Regions from separate parts of the Homo sapiens genome. Here all the other regions are linked to region 2. The links are contacts of gene promoters, found by promoter capture Hi-C in blood cells and fetal thymus (Javierre and others, 2016). All regions are on one chromosome and are shown on one strand. Each heading gives the region's core, a stretch centred on a gene start or on the middle of the fragment in contact. The rest is flanking DNA. Distances are from core to core; before and after follow the strand shown. Region 1 holds the start of VIPAS39 (VPS33B interacting protein, apical-basolateral polarity regulator, spe-39 homolog). Region 2 overlaps GPATCH2L (G-patch domain containing 2 like). Region 3 holds the start of SPTLC2 (serine palmitoyltransferase long chain base subunit 2).

Region 1 (2,700 bases), core at 19-2,518, 1.3 Mb before region 2:
AGGGCAGTTATTTTAAGAACGGTCAGGTTATAAAACCACGGCTGCTCGGCAACCTGGAGTTCCAACACACCCGACCTGATAGTTCCGGGTGAGAGGCCGCAGCTATCTGAGCTCTGAGCACCTGCACAACACGTTCTCAATCTCCCGCGGGACCGCTGCAGCGGTCCCCTATGAATGACTTTTAATTTTACCGCAGGCCGCAAAATAGGAATTACAGACCCCTGGCCTTAGGCCTTTCACAGCTATCTCCCAACACAATCAAAGGAGGTTCCAGTCTCAGTGACTCCTCTGGCCACGTGTAATAAGCACCTCCCTGCTCGGGCTGGATGCAGCAGCCAGGGCGTTATCTCCTAGTCTCTCTGACAACCCTCCTCTGGGGCGCAGCCCTCCACGTCCATCTCCCTCCCCTCAAACACTGAGAAGGTGACCGCGGAGTGGAGAGGCCTGGGGCTACGGACCCCTGCCACAGGAAGGACCCACCCCCATCTCCGGACAGGGCTACCTCAGCCCCAGCTCTGTCCGGGCCGAGGTTCTAGGAACCCTGAAACCCTGGCCCGGCCGCAGGTCTCCCAAGGCCGGCCTGCTTTTCTGGCCCTCACCAGTGCCAGTTGTTGACGTTGGTGGCGTCCGCCCGCTCCTCCACGATCCAGCGTGGGTCTCCCTCACCCCACTTGGCCATCGGCTCTCCTATCGCGGCGCCACCAGCTCCGGAGCAGCCGTAGCCACAGCCTCAGGACCGCTTAGTGCCAGCCGCCCGGCAGCGCCTGGAAACTACTAGAAGCGGCCGCAAGCACCTCCTGGCTTGCTTTTCCCTCCACCCCCTCCCCTCCTTAACTTCCGGCTCCTCCCCACTCCCACCGGTTACTTCCGTCCCAACTCGCCGCACCGTGGGTTCCGCCTGATTTAGAGATCCTTCAGACTCCATCGGGTTCTCCCCAAAAAGCGTCCCGAAACCCAACTGCTCATACAACCATTCCTCACCCATAGGAAAACAAAGAACACGTCTCATTGCTTCCCTGGACCCTAAATCGCCCTTGCTGAGCCTCATGGGAATTGTAGTCTTGCTACGTGACTCGCTGGATAACCGCGGAAGGTCTCGCGGAAAGGAGAGGAAATGACCTAGCACGGTGCTTGGGGTTTCTGGGGGCTGTAGTCAAGAAGCCTTGTGGTTCGTCGGGACAGCGCCTGACAGCAGAGGCAGAAGAAACTACGACTTCCAGCATGCCCTGCGGTCTCGTTATTCGTGTTTTCTCTCCGCCCTACGATTATTCCCTTCCGCCCCCTTCTCTAAGCTGCACAGCCTGAATAGAAGGGCTGGTCCAGCGGCGGCGGAGGCTGGCGCTGTCCTGAGAGGGAGGGCTCTGTGCGGAAGAGGTGAGGGTGTCCCAAGCCCCTTGGGTCGCGTATCTGGCTGGATCCAGCCTCTCCGCATCTTGATCTTTTCCCCTCTTCTAGGAGGCATCCCTACACCCTATGACTACAGGCCTGATTCTCTTCTTTCAGTCAGGGCGACCCTTGGGCGCTGGAGTACGCTTGGGACTGGGGCTGCGAGTGAGCACCAGCGATTGGTTCGGAAGCGGACATTTGGTTCAGAACGAGCATTTAACTCTGCCAGGGATCCGCTGGGCTCTGACGACTGCGGTAGATCCATGGCTTCCTGGACGTTCACCCGTAGAGTCATCCTAGCTTAACTCTTGTTCCCTGGTCTCAGTTCACAAGCCTCACCTGTATCTTCCTGGCTCGGAAGATAATTGAAACCAAGTCTGACTTCTCAGTAGGTGGTTTTTGGAGTTTTCTGAGGCAGGGAGCATGTTGTGGTTTTCTTGCTGATTCTTCTGTTTTCCTTTGTAAAGTTCCTGTTCTCCCCTGAGGTCTCTCACCCTGCCTTGTGGGCTGTCAGTAAACAAGAGACGATAAAGACAAACCTCTGAAGTATTTTAAATCATGTTGAAGCACCTGTCACTCTTAAGAGTGACAATCGTACCTGATTACTTTATAACTCTAGAGCCACTAGATCATTATCTATACTTGCCAAGTAAACCTAGCTTCTCATTTGGCGTTATAAATACAAATTGATGGCAGTTGTCTACTGCCATTGCATGGTTAAAAAGATTCCAGAAATCCTCTGGTAGATTATTGTGTTTGTTAGACACATTCTATGTCTATCTGTAGATAATTACTATAGTGAAGGAATGATCTCTAGTTTTCTGGAAAGTGAAAAATAGGTAGAAGGACCATGCAAGACACTAGAAATGGTCTAGGAGCCAGAAAGCCTGGATTGTAATTTGAAATAGGAGCATTTAACAAAGTGGCTTTGATACTGAACTCTTTTGTGCCTCACTTTCCCCATGAGTAACATGGAAATGGAATCTCCCAGGCCTACCTTACAAGATTGTTCTGAGGATCAAACGAATGACAGAGTGATTTATGAACTGACATGTGTGCCAGAGACATTTATATGTTCTATACACATCTTCAGCATTTGTGGCTACTCAGAATTTTTGTATTTTTTTTAATCTTTAGGATTGCTAAAAAATATTTTCTTTTTTAGCTTTTCCCAAGGTACCAGGATGATGTATTAATAATAAAAGTTACTATTGAGTGTTAATTTTGGGTCAGGCACTAAGCACTTTACATGTATTAACTGGTTTACTCCTCAGAACCATTTCTAAGGTAGGTCATCTGTTATGCCCATTTAAC
Region 2 (2,700 bases), core at 138-2,637:
GGCTGGTTTGAAAGAAGGTAGAACCCACTAAGACCATGGATGTGCACTTTGGGAAAAATTAACCAGGAAAATCTTTGACTTAGTAAGGGAGATCTCACCATTCTGACATGTTCTCATCAGAGCCCTGTTTTTGTTCATCTGTTTCACACTCCATCCTTTCTTTCCTTCCTGTTTTGCTTAGGAAAGTCCTATTTTCTGCTGATTCACACAATCCGTGGCCTGATGAGGTCCAGGGAGTATTCTCCTTCCAGCGGGACAGACGCTGCTTCTTAGCAGACTTGAACCTGCAGCCTCTCTCATAGCTCCAATCTGACACCTTCAGCTTCTGCTGAAGGCTAGCAGCCACCTCTGATGTCACTCGCTTCACCTTCCGCCTGCGCCTGAGTGGTCGACAAGGTGCATTTTCAGTAAAGGAGTCAGATTCATGCCAAGAATGTTGCTTACTCTTGACAATGGCATTGAGAGCTGGGTGTCGTTTGGCTACCATTGTGTCATCAGAGTCACTAAAATTGGTCACCGGAGCCACTTCTCGACAGTCCTTAGTGGCCTCATCCAGACTTGACTCAGAGGCCTCGCTGTAGCAGCAGGTATGCTCTGCCAGGTGAGTGAAGTCAGAACGACGCTTCCGACCTCGGCGTTTCCGAAGCTGCCGCCTCTGCTGTCGGGGGCTCAGCGCCATCTCCTCCCACAGTTCACCAAGCTTATTCTGCTCAGATGTCTGCTCCAAGGCTGAGGCTAAGTCGTGTACCAGCTCATCCATGAGGCCACATCTGCCAAAAGGAAGTTTAGGAAAAAAAGAAAGAAAGAAAAGAAAAAGAAAAAGAAAGCCTGAAAAAGGATCTGTTGTTTTGGAATAATTTGATGAAACAGATCATGGTAGTCCACAGTTCTGCCTGTCTAAACAAAATAAGTCACCTTTCATCTGGCTACACTTAGATTCTGTTCCTACCACTTCCTTAAGTCACTAAAAATAGATGTTTTGTCCCTTGTTAAATGCCTGAAGTCAACATATTCTTAAGCACAAAAACCTACTAACCAGAAGACAACTGGGACAGGACCCAAAACAAATTCGGGGGACTAGATCCTTCTCTCTTTTCCCCAATTAAACTTGTCATTGAATTACCTAATGATGAGATCCAGAAAGATTAGAGACTGTCTCACTAGACAGGAACAGAAAAACATACAACTTCAAAATCACACTAGAGTTGTGGAAACACAGAGTAGCACATGGTCTCATCGAGGTATTGAGAATGAATGAAAAACTGTTCTTTGGCCTGGGGTCACTGCTGACAATGACCATGGCAGAAAGAAACAGAAAGACAACTTAGTGACACCATTTAAGGAAGAATGCAGTTTTCGTGATCCAAGAAATTGTAGTGACCCAGGTTTGAAGTCAGAATGGAGAAGAGACTAAGTTTGCGCCCATTCTGGTACCAACTACCACCTGGAAGCTACCAGGTATAGAACCTTATACAGTATGTCATATATTTTTGAATAATTAACAATTTTTAAGCCCCTCTCCTACCCTCCAGAAAATAAATGTTGGTCCTAGTTATGTGCTTCAGTGCCACACAATCACAGAAAACTAGGATACAATAGCAGCTGAAATGACAGGGATAGGGTGAAGTTTCTAAGATTTCTGGCCAAACTGCTTTCCAAAATTTCTTATTTTTCTGTTCATCCTCAAACCAAACATCACACTTCAGGGGTCACTTCAGAGACAAACATTTCAAGAAATGACAGTAGTAGGAGCAATCTTCAAAATTCCCCCTTAAGGGGAAATATTTAATTTGTACAGCATCTAATTAAATACATATTAAATTTTTAGCACTTTTCTCTTGCCTCTATGCCCAAAGTATTTCAAGATCAGCTTAAAATTCTAAGTGGTGCCACTCTCTGACCATATTCCCATTCATTCAGTTTTCACTTTGCAAAGGGCTTTCTAAAACCTATTTTCATGCTGTGCCTATGCCAATGAACTTAAAGACAGGAAAACAGTCCTCTGGCTTATCTGCCACACCTGTAGGAGCAATAGTGACACCTACTTCCAAAACTACCATACAAACGAAGCTTCTCAAAGTGTCCAAAAGCACATACATTTAAACAAGACCAAGTTCTTTTAAGCATTAAGAAGTGGTTTATCAACACCTGTGAAAAGAAGGGGAAAAAATGGGAAAAAAAAAAGTGGATTAAAATGCCATGATTGAGGTTTGGGAGACAACTGTCCCTAAGACCAAAATAAAGAAACAAGTGGGAACAGCATGTCAAAATCTACTTCCCTAATAAAGAATTACTGCTTTAAAAACTCAGGCAACAAAAATACAAAAAACAAAAACAAAAGAACAAATAAAAACCTCAGGCAGAACAGCACAAACTTGAACATGGAACGAAGTCATCAAACAACTTGCAGTCGAATGCCTGTGCAGAATCCTTTCCTGCCTCAAAGCCTGTAATTCCAACAGTAGTGACAAAAGAACCCTAGAACTCCCCATCTCCAGTCGCGGATGCACACTCTCGAGAGGACCCGGCGGCCAGGCACGCACCCGGGCAGAGATGAGGCTGAGTCACGCACAGGAAGGAACGGGTAGCTGGTGGACAGCAAGTAAGAAGAGAGACAGGAGCAGGGTGGAAGTGAGGGGCGGAGTAGGAGGTGGGAGAGGCAGGAGGCAACTGCTCATTTGGGCTCACGAGGGGCGGGGA
Region 3 (2,700 bases), core at 102-2,601, 1.5 Mb before region 2:
TCATGCAAAACCAATACCTTGTGGACCTCCTTTCTAAAGCTCCTGCAGGGTGGGGAAAGAATGCACGGATTCTCATAGGTGCATTTAGCAATTACTAGTAACCAACACTTAATGAATGCTTACTAATTGCTAGGTCCTGTACAAAATACATTACATACATAAACTTATTCAATCTTCACGACAACTATTATTGTCCCCACTGAACAGATGAAGACACATAGAGGTCACTCAGCTAGTAAGTGGCGCAGCTAGGATTTAAAACCCAGACCGACTCCAGAGTCCATACTCTCAATTATGATACTAAATTCTTTATGGATAACAGAAAGTCTCTAATTGTAATGTAGATCAATTTCCTTGCTTTCTAACCCCATGGGAAGATGGAACTAAAAGGGTGAGAAAATAATATTTATTATACTCCTACTATAAGCCTAGTATTATAAGAGGTGCATAATGGGTTAATGATATAATTCTTGCTGTAAGTCTATGAAGCAGGAAGTATTAACTCCATTTTAAAGAATTTGGCTTCTAAAGTGGTTAAACACAGTGCTCAAGTTTTAGCTTCCAGTTATTGGCAGAGTTGGAATTAGACCAGGTTTTCTAACTTTGAAGGAAAGACTTAATTTAAAGGAGACTGTATAGAAAACCCTGCCAAGGGCAAATGTGAAGGGCACGTGAAAAGGCATCTGAATTATTACTTATAATAATTCAGAAATAGTGAATGTGTGGCGCATATTGAAGAATGATGAGAGATTGTCAAAAAATCTATTCTATAAACACTCACAGAGGAATCAGCTAATTAAATAAGCGAGCTGCCTGTCTTGGGCTAGGACATAAACTCCAAAACTTCCCACGAGGCAAGGGCAAAGAGGGCGCCACCTGTCCTGGAGAACCTGGGAACCCGCTCTAGAGACTTCGGCTCAGCCCCTTTTATTTCCTCACACTCTAATTGGCTACTTTTCCCTGGGCTCCGCCTCCTCCTCGGTCTGGACCATTAAACAGGCAAGCCCTACCCCGGACCTGGATGCGGCCTCCAATCAGGTGCCAGGCCCTGGAGTCCCTCTAGAGAAGCCCCCTCTCCACCGGCGAGGCGCTTTGCTCTCGTCCGTGATTGGCCAGGCAGCAGCATGGGGTCCGCCTCCTTCTCTTCCAGATTGGTCAGCGGTCCTCAGGACCACATCCCTCTCGGCAGGTCCCCGCCGCTTTTTCCCTTCGCTGCGTGGCCTTGGCCGAGACCGGTCCTCTGCGGAGAGGGCCCCGCCCTCTGTGAAGGCCCGCCCGGGAATTGGCGGCGGCGCTGCAGCCATTTCCGGTTTCGGGGAGGTGGGTGGGGTGCGGAGCGGGACTTGGAGCAGCCGCCGCCGCTGCCACCGCCTACAGAGCCTGCCTTGCGCCTGGTGCTGCCAGGAAGATGCGGCCGGAGCCCGGAGGCTGCTGCTGCCGCCGCACGGTGCGGGCGAATGGCTGCGTGGCGAACGGGGAAGTACGGAACGGGTACGTGAGGAGCAGCGCTGCAGCCGCAGCCGCAGCCGCCGCCGGCCAGGTACGAGGGGCCCGCGCGGCGGGGCCGGGGTGGCGGTGTGGACTGGCGGAGGGGCGGCCGGGCGGGGCGAGGTCTCCGGGCCATCCGCTGGGCAATCCGCGGGGCGGGCGCCGTTCGCAGGTGTGGGCGGCAGTGTCCGGCCGCTGGCCCGACCTCCACGAGCCTGGAGGCTCAAGGACGGCTCGGGGGCTCCCCACCTCTCCGCGCCTGGAGGTCTTACTCCCGGAGCTCTGGGTTCTGCTCAGAGCTCCGGGTACTTTTCTCTGCCCCATTCTGCCAGAAGTGTGTGCTGTCCCCAGGGGAAGCGATGAGGGGCCCTTCGGACTCCAGTGGGAGCCGCCCAAGGGCTCCGGAGGGTCCCTTCTCAAACCCCTGAGGTTATTGCTTCCTTTTAAAGTCCTGCAGTCGTCCAAAGAAAACCACCCATGGGGTCCTTAAGAAGCAAAGAAAATTAGGCGGTGGTGTCAGATGGAAACACACCCAGCCTCTCCCAACCACATTCTGGACTACCACGTTCAGTCCCCAACCAGGACATTGGTCCATAGATCTGGCAGGGAATCCAAGCTGGTCCCTCGAAAGCATCATTCTCTTAACTCTGCCGGTGGTGAGACTCTACCCCAGGCTCCAGGTTGGATTAGGTGGCCCCTTCGACCCTTTCCTGAACACGAGTGCTATCACACAAGGGGATTGTTTAGCCTGGTGGTGACTTGCGATGACTCTATACTAATTAACCATGCTGAATCATCAACCAAGTTCAGGCAGTTCTAAAATATTTTGAAAAGTTCTAAATTCAAGACAATGCTTATTATCAACCTTACAGTGGTCTGGACTGACAGATATTCTGTTGAAATGTGTTTTTAAAGATGAGCTGGTTAAAAAGATGCAAGATCGGTGTTCCTGGAAGAGAGTGTTGCGATAATTTTGCAGTTGACTTTAATACGTTTAAGTCTTGTACAGATATTAAGGAACGCTTAGAAAGTACTCTGTTTCCCTTTAGCGGGAGTGTGACTGTTGCAGTTTGATAGGATGGTGATCTTAATTTGGCTTTAACATAACTACTCCCCAGATGAGTAGTTATGATGGATAGGTCTGTTACTGTTTGCTGCGAAGCAGAAAATAAAGCATTTTTCCAGGTCATGTTGAGATATTGAGACTGAGTT

The links. Contacts are between HindIII fragments. The CHiCAGO score rates a contact against its expected background, and 5 or more counts as called.
Region 1: a contact is called between the fragment with the promoter of VIPAS39 here and a fragment that was not itself captured in region 2, in 1 of 17 cell types (non-activated CD4 T cells). The highest score is 6.7, in non-activated CD4 T cells.
Region 3: a contact is called between the fragment with the promoter of SPTLC2 here and a fragment that was not itself captured in region 2, in 4 of 17 cell types (non-activated CD4 T cells, total CD4 T cells, neutrophils and 1 more). The highest score is 7.0, in non-activated CD4 T cells.

The regions. Positions count from the first base shown.
Region 1 is chr14:77,456,169-77,458,868 of GRCh38, reverse strand. VIPAS39 (VPS33B interacting protein, apical-basolateral polarity regulator, spe-39 homolog) reads left to right here and starts at 1,268. Exons shown (of 20, transcript NM_001193315.2): 1 at 1,268-1,374. It overlaps AHSA1 (activator of HSP90 ATPase activity 1), which reads right to left and starts at 776. Exons shown (of 9, transcript NM_012111.3): 1 at 600-776. The coding sequence starts at 679. RefSeq lists enhancers at 520-699, 425-947, 870-1,329, 948-1,470. The HindIII fragment of the contact is 4,049 bases long and covers 1-2,700 here.
Region 2 is chr14:76,152,424-76,155,123 of GRCh38, reverse strand. GPATCH2L (G-patch domain containing 2 like) reads right to left here. Exons shown (of 10, transcript NM_017926.4): 2 at 99-770. The coding sequence starts at 760. Among named protein-coding and RNA genes, the nearest start is that of GPATCH2L, 1.9 kb to the right of the region's middle. The HindIII fragment of the contact is 1,370 bases long and covers 703-2,072 here.
Region 3 is chr14:77,615,288-77,617,987 of GRCh38, reverse strand. SPTLC2 (serine palmitoyltransferase long chain base subunit 2) reads left to right here and starts at 1,351. Exons shown (of 12, transcript NM_004863.4): 1 at 1,351-1,540. The coding sequence starts at 1,409. RefSeq lists silencers at 925-984, 1,315-1,364, 1,505-1,704 and enhancers at 1,024-1,556, 1,885-2,094. The HindIII fragment of the contact is 6,254 bases long and covers 1-2,700 here.